5 separate regions of the Homo sapiens genome follow, and regions 1, 2, 4 and 5 are each linked to region 3. Evidence: promoter capture Hi-C in 16 types of primary human blood cells and fetal thymus (Javierre and others, 2016). All regions are on one chromosome and are shown on one strand. The core of a region is centred on a gene start or on the middle of the fragment in contact, and the rest is flanking DNA. Distances in the headings are between cores, read along the strand shown. Region 1 overlaps WSB2 (WD repeat and SOCS box containing 2). Region 2 overlaps KSR2 (kinase suppressor of ras 2). Region 3 holds the start of FBXO21 (F-box protein 21). Region 4 overlaps MED13L (mediator complex subunit 13L). Region 5 overlaps KSR2 (kinase suppressor of ras 2).

Evidence for each region. The method cuts DNA at HindIII sites, captures the fragments that hold promoters and counts their contacts. A CHiCAGO score of 5 or more calls a contact.
Region 1: a contact is called between a fragment that was not itself captured here and the fragment with the promoter of FBXO21 in region 3, in 1 of 17 cell types (endothelial precursors). The highest score is 6.0, in endothelial precursors.
Region 2: a fragment that was not itself captured here is called in contact with the fragment with the promoter of FBXO21 in region 3 in 2 of 17 cell types (endothelial precursors and M2 macrophages); the score reaches 9.5 in endothelial precursors.
Region 4: a contact is called between a fragment that was not itself captured here and the fragment with the promoter of FBXO21 in region 3, in 3 of 17 cell types (activated CD4 T cells, total CD8 T cells and naive CD4 T cells). The highest score is 5.7, in activated CD4 T cells.
Region 5: a contact is called between a fragment that was not itself captured here and the fragment with the promoter of FBXO21 in region 3, in 1 of 17 cell types (endothelial precursors). The highest score is 6.1, in endothelial precursors.

The regions. Positions count from the first base shown.
Region 1 is chr12:118,033,822-118,036,521 of GRCh38, reverse strand. It overlaps WSB2 (WD repeat and SOCS box containing 2), which reads left to right. Exons shown (of 9, transcript NM_018639.5): 6 at 12-184; 7 at 1,198-1,308; 8 at 1,429-1,536; 9 at 2,164-2,700. The coding sequence ends at 2,326. It also overlaps a transcript of RFC5 not described here. Among named protein-coding and RNA genes, the nearest start is that of RFC5, 18 kb to the right of the region's middle. RefSeq lists enhancers at 790-839, 850-909. The HindIII fragment of the contact is 580 bases long and covers 1,064-1,643 here.
Region 2 is chr12:117,856,816-117,859,515 of GRCh38, reverse strand. The region is part of intron 2 of KSR2 (kinase suppressor of ras 2); the gene reads left to right. Among named protein-coding and RNA genes, the nearest start is that of KSR2, 110 kb to the left of the region's middle. The HindIII fragment of the contact is 1,217 bases long and covers 802-2,018 here.
Region 3 is chr12:117,189,041-117,191,740 of GRCh38, reverse strand. It overlaps FBXO21 (F-box protein 21), which reads left to right and starts at 1,271. Exons shown (of 12, transcript NM_015002.3): 1 at 1,271-1,523; 2 at 2,379-2,514. The coding sequence starts at 1,285. RefSeq lists silencers at 1,055-1,114, 1,155-1,254, 1,535-1,584 and an enhancer at 2,055-2,144. The HindIII fragment of the contact is 6,345 bases long and covers 1-2,543 here.
Region 4 is chr12:116,272,846-116,275,545 of GRCh38, reverse strand. The region is part of intron 1 of MED13L (mediator complex subunit 13L); the gene reads left to right. Among named protein-coding and RNA genes, the nearest start is that of MED13L, 3.5 kb to the left of the region's middle. The HindIII fragment of the contact is 1,389 bases long and covers 561-1,949 here.
Region 5 is chr12:117,840,013-117,842,712 of GRCh38, reverse strand. All of the region lies in intron 3 of KSR2 (kinase suppressor of ras 2), which reads left to right. The region is part of intron 2 of LOC105370011 (a long non-coding RNA gene); the gene reads right to left. Among named protein-coding and RNA genes, the nearest start is that of KSR2, 130 kb to the left of the region's middle. The HindIII fragment of the contact is 5,051 bases long and covers 1-2,700 here.

The DNA.
Region 1 (2,700 bases), core at 104-2,603, 840 kb before region 3:
ACTTTCCACAGGTCTTTCTATGGAGCATGAGGTCCTACACGTTAATTCGGAAGCTAGAGGGCCATCAAAGCAGTGTTGTCTCTTGTGACTTCTCCCCCGACTCTGCCCTGCTTGTCACGGCTTCTTACGATACCAATGTGATTATGTGGGACCCCTACACCGGCGAAAGGCTGAGGTCACTCCAGTAAGGACTGAATCCCTGCTATGACTTTTTTGTGGGGGGACTGATGAGGAACCTGCCTGGGATTAGACATGTCTCTTTTAGAATCTGGGACATGGGAGGGGACAAGCTGGATAAAAAGGCACAGTGGGTCTCTTTTGAGACGGAGTCTCGCTCTGTCACCCAGGCTGGAGTGCAGTGGCGCAATCTTGGATCACTGCAACCTCCACCTCCCGGGTTCAAGCGATTCTGCTGCCTGAGCCTCCCGAGTAGCTAGGACTACAAGCGTGCGCCACCAGGCCTGGCTAATTTTTGTATTTTTATTAGAGATGGGGTTTCACCATGTTGGCCAGGCTAGTCTCAAACTCCTGACCTCAGGTGATCCACCGCCTCAGTCTCCCAAACTGCTATTATAGGCATGAGCCACTGCGCCTGGCCTGGTTCATTGCTTCTTAGTGATGCCTTGTCAATTAAGCCCTCTCAAGTAGCTTTGAGTGTCTTCCAGTCTCCTGATTCAGGTGGCTGTGTGTACTTCTTCGGAATCAGCATTATGAAGCCTCAATATGACTCTTTATTTCCATTTACTAATAACTGTAGTAACAAGTTCAGAAAGAGCCTCTTATCGAAACTGTGCTTTCCAAAATGAGTTTCATGTTCTCACAAACTTGGTCTCCTTTTTCCTTTTGTGTCTGTTGTTTTATGAAGCAAATAATAGGCAGTCCTATAATTATCATGTATCTTAGCCTAAAAAAGACTTGCAGTTTCTACTGTGGCATTAAAGTGAGGGCTGACCTACTTTGCATAAGCAAATTAGCACAAGGAAGTGTTAGTAACCCTTCATCCACAGGACACCTGGAGCCTTCTGAGATACCCTTTTTTTTCCCAGTGTGCAAATCCCAAGCTTTTCCACGAGGGGCACACAATGCATCTTGAGCCCTTTTGTAGCCAGGGCAGTTTGGCTTCCTGCCTAGGGTGATGATGGAGGGTGGAGAGCAGCCATCACTCCAGGCCTGCCATCCTGTTTCTTTCCTTCCCAGCCACACCCAGGTTGACCCCGCCATGGATGACAGTGACGTCCACATTAGCTCACTGAGATCTGTGTGCTTCTCTCCAGAAGGCTTGTACCTTGCCACGGTGGCAGATGACAGGTAACGAAGAGAACTCTCTTTACATGGCCTCAGAACAAGTGCTTGCAAGTAATGGCAGCAAGGCCCTCTTGGTCTGGCCCTGGGTCAGCTAATATCCAGATGTTCTCTCTCCCCATCCAGACTCCTCAGGATCTGGGCCCTGGAACTGAAAACTCCCATTGCATTTGCTCCTATGACCAATGGGCTTTGCTGCACATTTTTTCCACATGGTGGAGTCATTGCCACAGGGTATGTATTTGTTAGCTGAACAGATGGGTGGTGCTTTCTGCTGAGTATACCATGGAGCTTTTTAAGGAAAGAAACCATCTAGAATTTTCTTGCCTATGAGGAAAGCTTTAAGGCAATTCAAGATTATATAAAACTCAAATGATCGATTTTGCTAATAACGGTGTCCCATTTTCTCTGAATATTTAACCTAAATGTAATTAAAGATCTGTAAGTCATGCCACCTAATGGGCCAAGTTCACAAGGGAGAATAAAATTGAGATGATGCATAATATATGGGAAACCATTTAGGGCTAAAAGACCACTTTACAGGTAACATCTATAATTCAGTAGGTGGCACTCTTCCCCCTTATACTTTTGAACTAACTGTGGTCAGATTTAGAAAGGGCTGTGCCGAGAGAGAGACAGAGAGAGCGCTTTGGTATCACAGGTGTCTTGAGTTTTTCTAATCCTATCAGCAGCTTTAATTATTCAGCACCACAATTTTACATCCATTTCCACAGTCAGGGTTACATTTCACTCTCCGAAGTCTCCTGCTCTTTGCAGTCAAAACAGAAACATGAGTATTCATCCTCATGAAAACATGAACATCCAAGCTCTGTCTTAGCATCGGTTTCTGTTTCATTTTAGGACAAGAGATGGCCACGTCCAGTTCTGGACAGCTCCTAGGGTCCTGTCCTCACTGAAGCACTTATGCCGGAAAGCCCTTCGAAGTTTCCTAACAACTTACCAAGTCCTAGCACTGCCAATCCCCAAGAAAATGAAAGAGTTCCTCACATACAGGACTTTTTAAGCAACACCACATCTTGTGCTTCTTTGTAGCAGGGTAAATCGTCCTGTCAAAGGGAGTTGCTGGAATAATGGGCCAAACATCTGGTCTTGCATTGAAATAGCATTTCTTTGGGATTGTGAATAGAATGTAGCAAAACCAGATTCCAGTGTACTAGTCATGGATCTTTCTCTCCCTGGCATGTGAAAGTCAGTCTTAGAGGAAGAGATTCCACTTGCACGGCAACAGAGCCTTACGTTAAATTTTCAGTCCAGTTATGAACAGCAAGTGTTGAACTCTTTCTGCTTGTTTTGATTCAAAGTGCAGTTACTGATGTTGTTTTGATTATGCAACTAAGTAGGCCTCCAGAGCCTCTCTAGTGGCAGAGCAGCTCACAC
Region 2 (2,700 bases), core at 161-2,660, 670 kb before region 3:
CTCTGCACTCCAGCCTGGGTGACAGAGTGAGACCCTGTCTCAAAAAAAAAAAAATAAATAAAAAACAAAAAACGAAAAAAACAGGCCAGGCGCGGTGGCTCATGCCTGTAATCCCAGCACTTTTGGCAGATCACTTGAGGTCAGGAGTTTGAGGCCAGCCTGGCCAACATGGCAAAACCCCGTCTCTACTGAAAGTACAAAAATTAGCCGGGCATGGTGGTGCACGCCTGCAGTCCCAGCTACTCGGGAGGCTGAGGCAGGAGAATAGCTTGAACCTGTGAGACAGATGTTGCAGTGAACTGAGATCCCACCACTGTACTCCAGCCTGGGTGTAGAGAAAGACTCTGTCTCAAAAAAAAAAAAAAAAAAAAAAAAAGTTCAGCTCATATTCTGGCACCAAATAGCACTCAGTAGATGCCAGCCTGTTACTGTTGTGAGCATCTGACATCTTATGTCCGCTCTCAAAGATTAGACCACGTTCTTAACATCTTGAGGATTGTGAGATTTTCTTACCCCCTGGGATCCCAGAGACCGACTCATTTGCAGTGACAGGGCCAAGCCAAACCTAATAAAACCAGCGGACATCACTGCATCTTTCATGCCAGGCATTGTGCAAAGGGTTTTGCACTTAGGATCTCAACTGCTGAGACTGTTCAGCCTCCTCGCAATGACCTTTTGAGTAGGTGTGACTGTTATCCCCCTTGTACAGAGTGGGAAACTGAGGCTCAGAGCTAAGTGAGTAGTCTAGCTGGCAAGTGGATGGGGCTAGCAGGATGTCCAGCTCAGATGGACAGCAAAGCTTTAGGTCAGAAGCACTGTGCATTAGCCTTGTTTTCCTGTTGCCTGGGTCCCCCCAGAGCTGGGCAGAAGAGGAGCTTGCCTCCCTGCCAGTGAAACCAAGAGTCCTCTCTCGAGGCGCTCCCTGCTTCCTACTTGAAGAGGCTTCCTGTCTTTTTTAGACCTTGTCCGCAGGGACAAGAATCTCACCCAGCCCCACCAGATCTAAGAATCCCAAGTTAGAGGCAGCATCACCCCGCTCCATTCCTCCAGGCCCCCACCCCACCCCATCTTGCATATGCACATCAGACCACGCGCAATCTCGTATTTCCTTATTTCATTCCCAGTATGGCCAGATGAGTTTCTTGCAAATATCCTTAGAATGAATGGTCCTGTATAAGGACAGACAGTGTTGTATTTGCATGGCTCAGGGCATTTCTTTTGGAGGCTTCAGAGTCATTTATATATCAAGTGCCACTTGTGGGGGCAAATAAGGTAGAAACGATTCGATTCTAGACCAGGGGTTGAAAACTGGTGGCCCTCAAGCTGGTTCTGATATGCAGACATGTTGTTGTTGTTTGGTTAATATGATGTCAGGACATTTATTTTGAGCCAATACTTAAAAACCGAAAGAGTCTGTCTAAAAAACCCAGAGATCTCTGGCTTCACTTACAAAATCAGAAATGTTGACCATGCTGAACTGAGCTCCTGTCTGGCAGCGATTTGCTCATTTACATTTACCTGACCTGCAGGTACCTGAGTTTTGGCTCTTGCCTTAGTCACTGAGCATCTTGAGTCCAGGGACCCAGGGAGTGGGCGGGAGAAGACGTGGGGTTTCTGCTCTTTGTCTGCAGTTCAGGTATGTGTCCACCAGAGGTCCCCTTTCTGTGAAGTGACTGAAGTATGGAGAAAGCTCCACAGTAAAACAGCTGGGTTTGAATCCTGGCTCCACCAATGACTTGCTGTGTGACCTTAGGCAAGTGGTCTAACCTCTCTGAATTTTACTGTCCTAGTCTGTAAGTGGTGATGATAAAAGTGCCTACTTTCAGTAGTTTTTGTGATAATAAAAGGAAATCTATCAAAAACCTTAAAACAGTGTTCCATCCATTTCAGCTATTATTATTACTATTATTTTATCAAACAGAGGTGTGTCTGCCCTTTTGGCCCAGGTTTGTTAAGGGTTTCTCCATTTTTGATGTTATAAAAATGTTACTTTTATGATTTTTTTCTGAACTTAAGCTTTAGAGTAAATTGAAATATATACATATATAAATCATAAGATTAAAATGCACAAGTGAATCCTGAAGCAAAGAGGAGAATCCTTTTATGTTATGAATCACCCCCTTCAAACATGAGTCATTCTGTACCTTCAGATCCTGGACTGGGTGCAGTGGCTCAAGTCCGTAATCTCAGCACTTTTGGAAACCGAGGTGGGAGGATCACTTGAGGCCAGGAATTCGAGACCAGCCTGGGCAACATAGTGAGATCCTATCTCTACAAAAAAATTTAAAAATTAGCCAGGCATGTTGGTGCATGCCTGTAGTCCCAGCTACTCAGGAGACTGAGGTGGGAGGGTCGCTTGAACCCAGGAGTTTGAGGCTGCAGTGAGATATGATGGCCTCACTGCACCCCAGCCTGGTGACAGAGGGAGACCCTGTCTCTATTTAAGAAAAACAACAACCAGAAATAAACAGATCCGTGGTCATCACCTTTCTTAAAGGGGCTCACCAGCAATGTGTCCCTATTTGAGAAAGCCTCTAAGTGACTCCACTATTCTTCTCTCTCTGCCCCCTGCCTGCCTGGGTGAGTTGAAAAGGCACCATAGCTCATATTTTTGAAGATAATTTTTTGTACTGAGACAGTTTTCTTCTTTCTGGCTATCAGTTTAATGTGGGAGCTGTATCTTGTTGTAATACACAAACA
Region 3 (2,700 bases), core at 22-2,521:
ATTTTTTTTTTTTAATGTGCAGATCCTGAGACTACCCTCCCAATCCTGAGTGATAACTCCCGCTTTGAAGACTCAAATCCAGGCTTTAGCACTTTTGTCTCTGTAACTTTGAACCAGTGACTGCCACCTGGAAGAACTTTGCCTTTTCTGTAGAATAGGTATAACTGTGGTACCTATTGTGGGAGGTCAGACTATGCTCCCCAAATATGAAGGATTGTTGAGCTGGAAACAATTAAGAAACCAGTACAGGAGAGCTCTCTGCCTGCCCTCTATTAGCCTAAAATCAGGGCACACATTTGAGGATTATTATTACTCCCCTACACCATCATAGAGGGCTTCCCATAGCACCCACTCAAGAATATTGTTATTATTACATCATATGGTTAAGATTACTGACAAGCAAAAGTCAAGTGGATCTGAAATAGAATCCAAGACAAGGGGCTGGGCGCGGTGGCTCACGCCTGTAATCCCAGCACTTTGGGAGGCCGAGGTGGGTGGATCATTTGAGGTCAGGAGTTCGAGACCAGCCTGACCAACATGGTGAAACCCTGTCTCTACTAAAAATACAAAAATTAGCTGGCTGTGGTGGCGGGCGCCTGTAATCCCAGCTACTCGGGAGGCTGACGCAGGATAATTGCTTGAACCAGGGAGGTGGAAGTTGCAGTGAGCCGAGATCACGGCCACTGCACTCCAACCTGGGTGGTGGCGCGCGCCTGTAATCCCATCCGCACGGGAGGCTGAGGCAGGAGAATCGCTTGAACCCAGGAGGCAGAGGTTGCAGTGAGCCGAGATAGCGCCACTGCCCTCCAGCCTGGGTGAGAGCAAGACTCCTTCCCAAAGGGGGAAAAAAAATCCAAGACAAGGGATCCTGAGCAAGCCCTCTCACTCTCCGAACCTGTTTCCCCATCTGTAATATGGGGAGAAAGTTCGCAGGGTAATTCGGAAAGGTCCAATGCGCACAGAAAGCGCTCAGCACGCGTGAGAATAGATACCATTTTTATTTGTTAATTTTAAACATTAATTACGTTTAAAAGAATCAGTGCTACTATTGTTGTCCCGGACTAGAGGCGGCTTGCGCTGCCGGCTCCAAGCACAGAGCCCAATTATGTCCTCCCTTTTGCGGCGCTGCCACCCGCGCAGCCCCCAGCCGATGCAGGGGAGGTGTGGCCCGCGGATGGGCGGAGCGATCTCAGGACTCGCCCCCAAGACCAGTAGGCGGGGCCAGGCGGGGCGCCCGGGCACTCTCGCACGCGCGCGCGCGGCGGCCCCAGGTACGCGGACAAGATGGCGGCGGCAGCAGTCGACAGCGCGATGGAGGTGGTGCCGGCGCTGGCGGAGGAGGCCGCGCCGGAGGTAGCGGGCCTCAGCTGCCTCGTCAACCTGCCGGGTGAGGTGCTGGAGTACATCCTGTGCTGCGGCTCGCTGACGGCCGCCGACATCGGCCGTGTCTCCAGCACCTGCCGGCGGCTGCGCGAGCTGTGCCAGAGCAGCGGGAAGGTGTGGAAGGAGCAGTTCCGGGTGAGGTGAGCCAGCGGCCCCGCGCCCCGGCTGCGCGCCCACCGCCCCGCGCCCCCCGGGGCCGGGCAGCCGCCCCGCTAGCTCCCCGCGGCCGCCCCGCGCGCGGACCCCACCCCGGACCCCTTCCCGCGGACAGACAGACAAAGGCCTCCAGGCCCCGGACCCTGCGGGGCCACGCCAGGCGGACCCCCGGGTCCCCAAATGGCGCATCTAGGAGCGCCTCGCAGCCGGGTCCTCCGTCAAGGGTGACGCTGGCGGCGGCGCGGCTCGTCCCTTTTGCGCGCTTCTTTTGTGCCCGACTTCGGGCTGAAATGTTTACATGGACCCAGTGATGCATCGATCGGGCGGGCGCAGCATCCCCGGGCTGGTTGTGGACGGCACAGATTTCAGCGTGGCCCCAGGATGAAATCTGGCCCTGCACACTCCCTCTGTGACCTTGGGGGGAGCGACTTCCCTTTTTTTGAGCCTCGTTCATAGACTTTGAGTGGTGGTGATCATTAGACCTACCTTTCACCGTGTTTATTAAATTAGATGATGTCCGGGAGGCACGCACGCAGGGCCCCGGCTCCTAGGAGGCGCTCAATCAGTGCTCACTGTCATTGTCATTATTATTATTGTTGTTGTTGTTACAACTGTCCCCATTTTAGAGATGGGGAATGGAGACATCATTCATGCCGCTACGCCAAGGTCACACCGGGAGTGAGTGAGTGAATGCTGGTGGGGTTTTGAACTAGGTCTCTCGCCGGGGTCCCTCTTACCACTGGACGCCACTGCTGTCCCTGTTTCCAAGGCTGCCTTGGATTCGTGGCCGCCTGCCTTTGAGTTTCTGTTAAGCTGAGGGGGTGTTTCTCTCCTCGTAGGTGGCCTTCCCTTATGAAACACTACAGCCCCACCGACTACGTCAATTGGTTGGAAGAGTATAAAGTTCGGCAAAAAGCTGGGTTAGAAGCGCGGAAGATTGTAGCCTCGTTCTCAAAGAGGTTCTTTTCAGAGCACGTAAGGATCTGTTGATGTGGCTCTAAGCTTTGGCTTGCTGGTGTATGTGTCTGGGTCTGCAGGCATGAGCTCATCCAGCTCTTTTCGTATCTCCCTTTTCAATGCTCTCACAATCCCTTACTCACTTAGATGGCTGCAAGAGTCATTGTGTCCTTTTCCTCCTATCCAACAACACGAAGCCATTTG
Region 4 (2,700 bases), core at 6-2,505, 920 kb after region 3:
TCTCGCCAACTTTTCAAATGAAAGTGTTACTTTATTAAATGTGTTACAATGCAGACCAAAAAATCAACACGTGATTTTTACCTACAAAGACATAGTATCATTGCTCCCACTCTAGTAAAATCAGGTAAATTTTTTTAAATGAAATATTTTAATCCAGATATTTAATCTTAAAATTCATTTATAAGTTGGAATTCTTTCTCTTAGTATTGTGATAATTTTCCCTTGATTTTTTGGTATGTGGGAGTAAAACCCCCTTTTGCCTCAACTTTTTCCCTCCTCAGTCTTATCATTTAGTATCAGTCAGGTTCAGGGACTTCCATAGATTAGCAAACATATTGATCAAGGGGTATTTAAAATGGTTTTTGTGTGGTTACTGGTGACCACATTGACACTTACAGGTAATTAAAATAACCAAGTAGAGCGATCTCCCAAATTATCATATATTATGCTGACTGGTAATGGCTGTGTATATACGGATTCTGTAGACAAATGAAAGTATATGTATAGCCAGTCTTTAGGGTATATCATTTCTTTTATCTTTTTTTTTTTTTTTTAAAGCTTAAGTAAGGATGATAACGTTACAGAGATAAAATGCTTGAGATTCTTTTGGAGAAGCAATTTTGTAGGAGAGGATTCTGTACTTTGATTTTGAATGACTAAAGGTTTGTGTTTGAGATATTTCTCCCCTAAACCTCTTTAAACCAAGGGATTGATTTTTGAATATGCTTTTTTAAAAAGAATTATTTTTTAAGTAGCAACTTTGAACTAGAGAACCATAGAAATGCTTAGTTGATTTTTTTTTTTAAAGGAACGTAGAATGTCTTCATTCTCTTGTACGTGGAGTGTGGATAAGGTGCTATTGAAGAAATGTAAATTAATTAAACTGCTGACTTGTACATTTTTCTGATTCCAAATTGAGATTTTTTTTTTTTGAAAATGCTATACAGCAGTAGCAACCTGGAATATTAAAAATATGTTGCCCAAAGTACATTGTATATCATAGTTATTTCTGAAGGAGATGTAATCACTTGTTCAAAATCATGTTTTTTTATAAGAACGCTTTATGGTTTAATAATAGCATGCATTTTTTTCTTTTGGCCTGCAGGGTTTTTTTTTTTTTTGTTTTGTTTTTTTTTGCAGAGAAAAGTATTTATAAAGAATTTACCTAGATACTCTCATTAGTTAGATTGAAATAAGAGATTAAGTTCTGTACCGTGGTAATACCCACCCAGTTTCCATTACCTTGAGGTGTTCATTATGGCTTACCAAAAGTTGATTGTGCAATCAATCAGACACTTTAAGATTTCTGCTAGTCTTTTACTTATTTTCTGATTTTTTACTGCACGGAATCAAATTTCTTAAATTAATTTTTCAGCATCCATTCCCTTTTCCTAACGTGTGAAAAATGCCATTGTGTATATATGATATGGGTCATTGTATAAGTTTCTTATTCTAACTGCTGTGAGATTTGTAGCTGCTGCATTAAGTGCATGCCTGCCTGTGCCTTTCTGACTCAAAACTATTTTCTTATGCTGTCCATCACATTTCTGGGTGACTTTTTATATATTCACTCAGTTAATCATTCAGTTAAAAGTGTGTTAAATCTGCCTTTTTGAAAAGTGTAACAGTGCACCCTATGGTATGTGAACTCATTCTTGTGAGAAGACATAATTTCTGGATGTTAAGTAGACATTTATTTTTCTCTATTGAGTTAATATGGAGAAAGTGATTTTGTGCCCTTTAACTAGATTTAAATATGTGCTCTTTGATATGAGGGAGTGATCTCTAGTTCTTAGATATGTATGCTCCACTTTCATGTTTTATTTGCTTAGAATCTTCCTGACTATGGATAATTGGGTGATAATCTCAAATTCTTGCTGAATTGAGACACTAGTACACCCATTAGTACATAATTCCTATTGAAGACCATTAGTTCTATATTTGAAGCTTTTAAGGTAATCTATTGTTGACCTACTTTCTTTTTGTCTTAAGGGATTTTTTTGCAGAATGGGAAGGTAGTTGTAAATGTAGAAAGTCTGAATTTTTTTTTTTTTTGCGCTAGAACAAAATAGGGTGGACTATAAAATGGAAATTAGGAAAAGGGAATGATTTCTCTAATTTTCAAAGTGCCAAAATACACAAGGTATTTTTTTGTACCAGTTCATTGTGATTTTATAATTTATGTTTAAAGCATTTTTTTCCATGATGGTTCATTTTCTTTCTTTTTATTTTTTATTTTTTTGAGACGGAGTTTCGCCTTGTTGCTCAGGCTGGAGTGCAAAGGTGCCATCTCAGTTCACTGCAACCTCTGCCTCCCAGGTTCTAGCGATTCTCCTCCCTCAGCCTCCGGAATACCTGGGATTACAGGCATGTGCCACCACGCCCGGCTAATTTTGTATTTTTAGTAGAGACGGGGTTTCTCCATATTGGTCAGGCTGGTCTCAAACTCCCGACCTCAGGTGATCCACCTGCCTCAGCCTCCCAAAGTGCTGGGATTACAGGCATGAGCCACTACGCCTGGCTATCATTTTCTGTAATGAAAATATTTACAATTTGTTAATGTATGTTTTCGGTTTAGCATTTTGTTGTTAGTAGCACATGGTGTTACAGTATTTATATATTTTTAATAGCAATAATTGCCACCCGGTAATAGTTGCCATATTAACCTCCAATTGCTAGTAAATATTTTTAAGTACATAA
Region 5 (2,700 bases), core at 68-2,567, 650 kb before region 3:
GAACAAAGAGAACCCGACTCTCTGGCTGTCATCTCTGATCAGCGCTGTAGTCACTTTCTCTTTTTATTCCTGGCATCCACGAGGTGCTGGGCAGAAGAATTGGGTGCAGAATTGACATTGAACTTGTGCTTGGCAGGGCCTGAACTCTTTGAGGTTTGTGGGTTCCATGAAACTACATGAACTGAGTCAGCTCCAAACAGACTATTACATCTTAGAATGAGACCCCCAGTCCTGTCCCTGGGCTCCCGATCTGGTCCCTATCTGCTGATGTTTTCACTGGCTCATTGCACCCAGCTACCCTCTCTTCTTCACAACGCCTGCCCCAGGGCCTTTGCACAGCCCTTCTTTCTGCCTGGAATACCCTGCCTCAATCTTCCTCTGGCTGATTCCTTGTCATTTTGGACTCAGCCCAACTGCCAGCTTCTCAGAGTCCCACTTCCATCCTGGCCACTCTCTATCCTATCATAGTCTCTAGCATATCTAAAATGATTTTGTTTATTTTCATACCCCTTTCCACAAGAACAGTGGTGCTCAAAACCTCAACATGTATCAGAATCCCCCAGAGGGTTCCACTCCCAGAGTTCCTGCTTCAGCCAGTCCGGGGCAGTGCCCAGAAATCTGCATTAACAAGTTCCCAGGCGACGCTGGTGCTGCTGGTTTGGGGAACACGCTTTGAGAACCCCTGTGTTGGAATTCTCCCTGCATCTGGCTCAGAGTTGGAATGCAAGAAGTAGTCACGGAGTGACTGAGTGAATGCTAGTGGTTGATGATAACAGCAGCGACAAATATTGATTGAGTTCTTACTGGGCCAAGTCACGCAGCACCTGCTCATTTAATTCTTCAACAACCTCATGAGGTCCGTAGGATTATTATTCCTATTTTCTGGTAAGAAAACTGAGGCTCAGAAAGGTAGAGCCCTTGCCTGGGAGGGGGGTGGTGGTCACACAGCAACTAAGTGTCAGAGGCGGGGTTTGAACTCATTTCTGTCTGACTCCTGTTAAGCGGAGGCTTCCCACATAAAAAAGTGGTGGGAATGAATGGCTTTCTCCTTAACTCTGAGTGGTCCCTGTGTTTCCATTTGCTCAGCTTGAGGGAGCAACCCTTTGGGGCTTTTGTAGCAGCTTACACTGGAACTGAGATAAAAAGAAATTATTTAAAGGCTGCATGTAAATATCAAATAATATTGCACATTTGCAGAGCACCTTCAGTTTTAGGAAGCACCTGCATGCAGGTGATCTTGTTTTAGCCTCGCAACCATATGAGTGGTGGGCAGATTAGGCTGCACGCCCAGTTTCACAGATGGGAACATTCCCAGCAGATTTGACTCTCCATCAGTATCTCTGTCCTTCCCAGCCACGGTCCTGAGGGAGGATGGGAGGCTTCTGTGGGCGCATGATTATGTTTGAAACTTGCAGGGAACATGCAGGGGGAAGGCAGAAAGGGCAAGGAGGATGAAAATATTTGTTATTATTTGGAGCAAAATTATTCTTGCCTTCCTTTAAAATATGCTGAGGGGAGATGGCTCCAGTTCATTATAGTCATGATTTTCACTCAGGTGGCTTTTTGCTTTCTCTAATTATTTCCCTGATTACCAACTTATACACTCGTGTGAGAAGTACCCAAGCTATTGTTTGGGAGAGAAAAAGAAAGCACCGCATTGACCATAATTTGCATCCACATTGGTATGTTACTTAGCAATTTTTTTTTTTTTTTGAGACAGAATCACTCTGTCGCCCCGGCTAGATTGCAGCGGCTTAATCTCGGCTCACTGCAACCTCTGCCTCCCAGGTTCAAGCAATTCTCCTGCCTCAGCCTCCCAAGTAGCTGGGATTACAGGCACCCACCACTATGCCCAGCTAATTTTTTGTATTTTTAGTAGAGACGGGGTTTCACCATGTTGGCCAGGTTGGTCTCAAACTCCTGACCTCGTGATTCGCCCACCTCGGCCTCCCAGAGTGTTGGGATTATAGGCGTAAGCCACCATGCCTGGCTTAGTATTTTTTAAACAGCTGCATGGGGACAGGCGTGGTGGCTTACGCCTGTAATCCCAGCACTTTGGGATGCCGAGGCAGATGGATCACTGGAGGTCAGGATTTTGAGTCCAACCTGGCCAAAATGGTGAAACCCTGTCTCCACTAAAAATATAAAATTTGGCTGGGCATGGTGGTGCATGCCAATAGTCCCAGTTACTTGAGAGGCTGAGGCAGGATAATTGTTTGAACCCAGGAGGTGGAGGCTGCAGTAAGCTGAGATCATGCCACTGCACTCCAGCCTGGGCAACAGAGCAAGATTCCATCTCAATAAATAAATAAATAGGCCAGGTGTGGTGACTCACACCTGTAATCCCAGCACTTTGGGAGGCCAAGGTGGGTGGATCACCTGGGGTCAGGAGTTCAAGAACAGCCTGGCCAACATGGTGAAACCCCATCTCTACTAAAAATACAAAAATTAGCCAGGCGTTGTGGTGCACGCCTATAGTTCCAGCTACTCAGAGCGTCGAGGCAGGAGAATGGCTTGAACCCTGGAGGCGGACGCTGCAGACAGCCAAGATTGCGCATTGCACTCTGGCCTGGGTGACAGAGGGAGACTCCATCTCAAAAAAAAAAATAAAATAAAATAAAGTAAAATAAAATAAAATGGGAAAAAAGTCTGGAAGGAAATCCACTTGGATATTTAGCATAGCTGTTCTTTGGTTAAGGG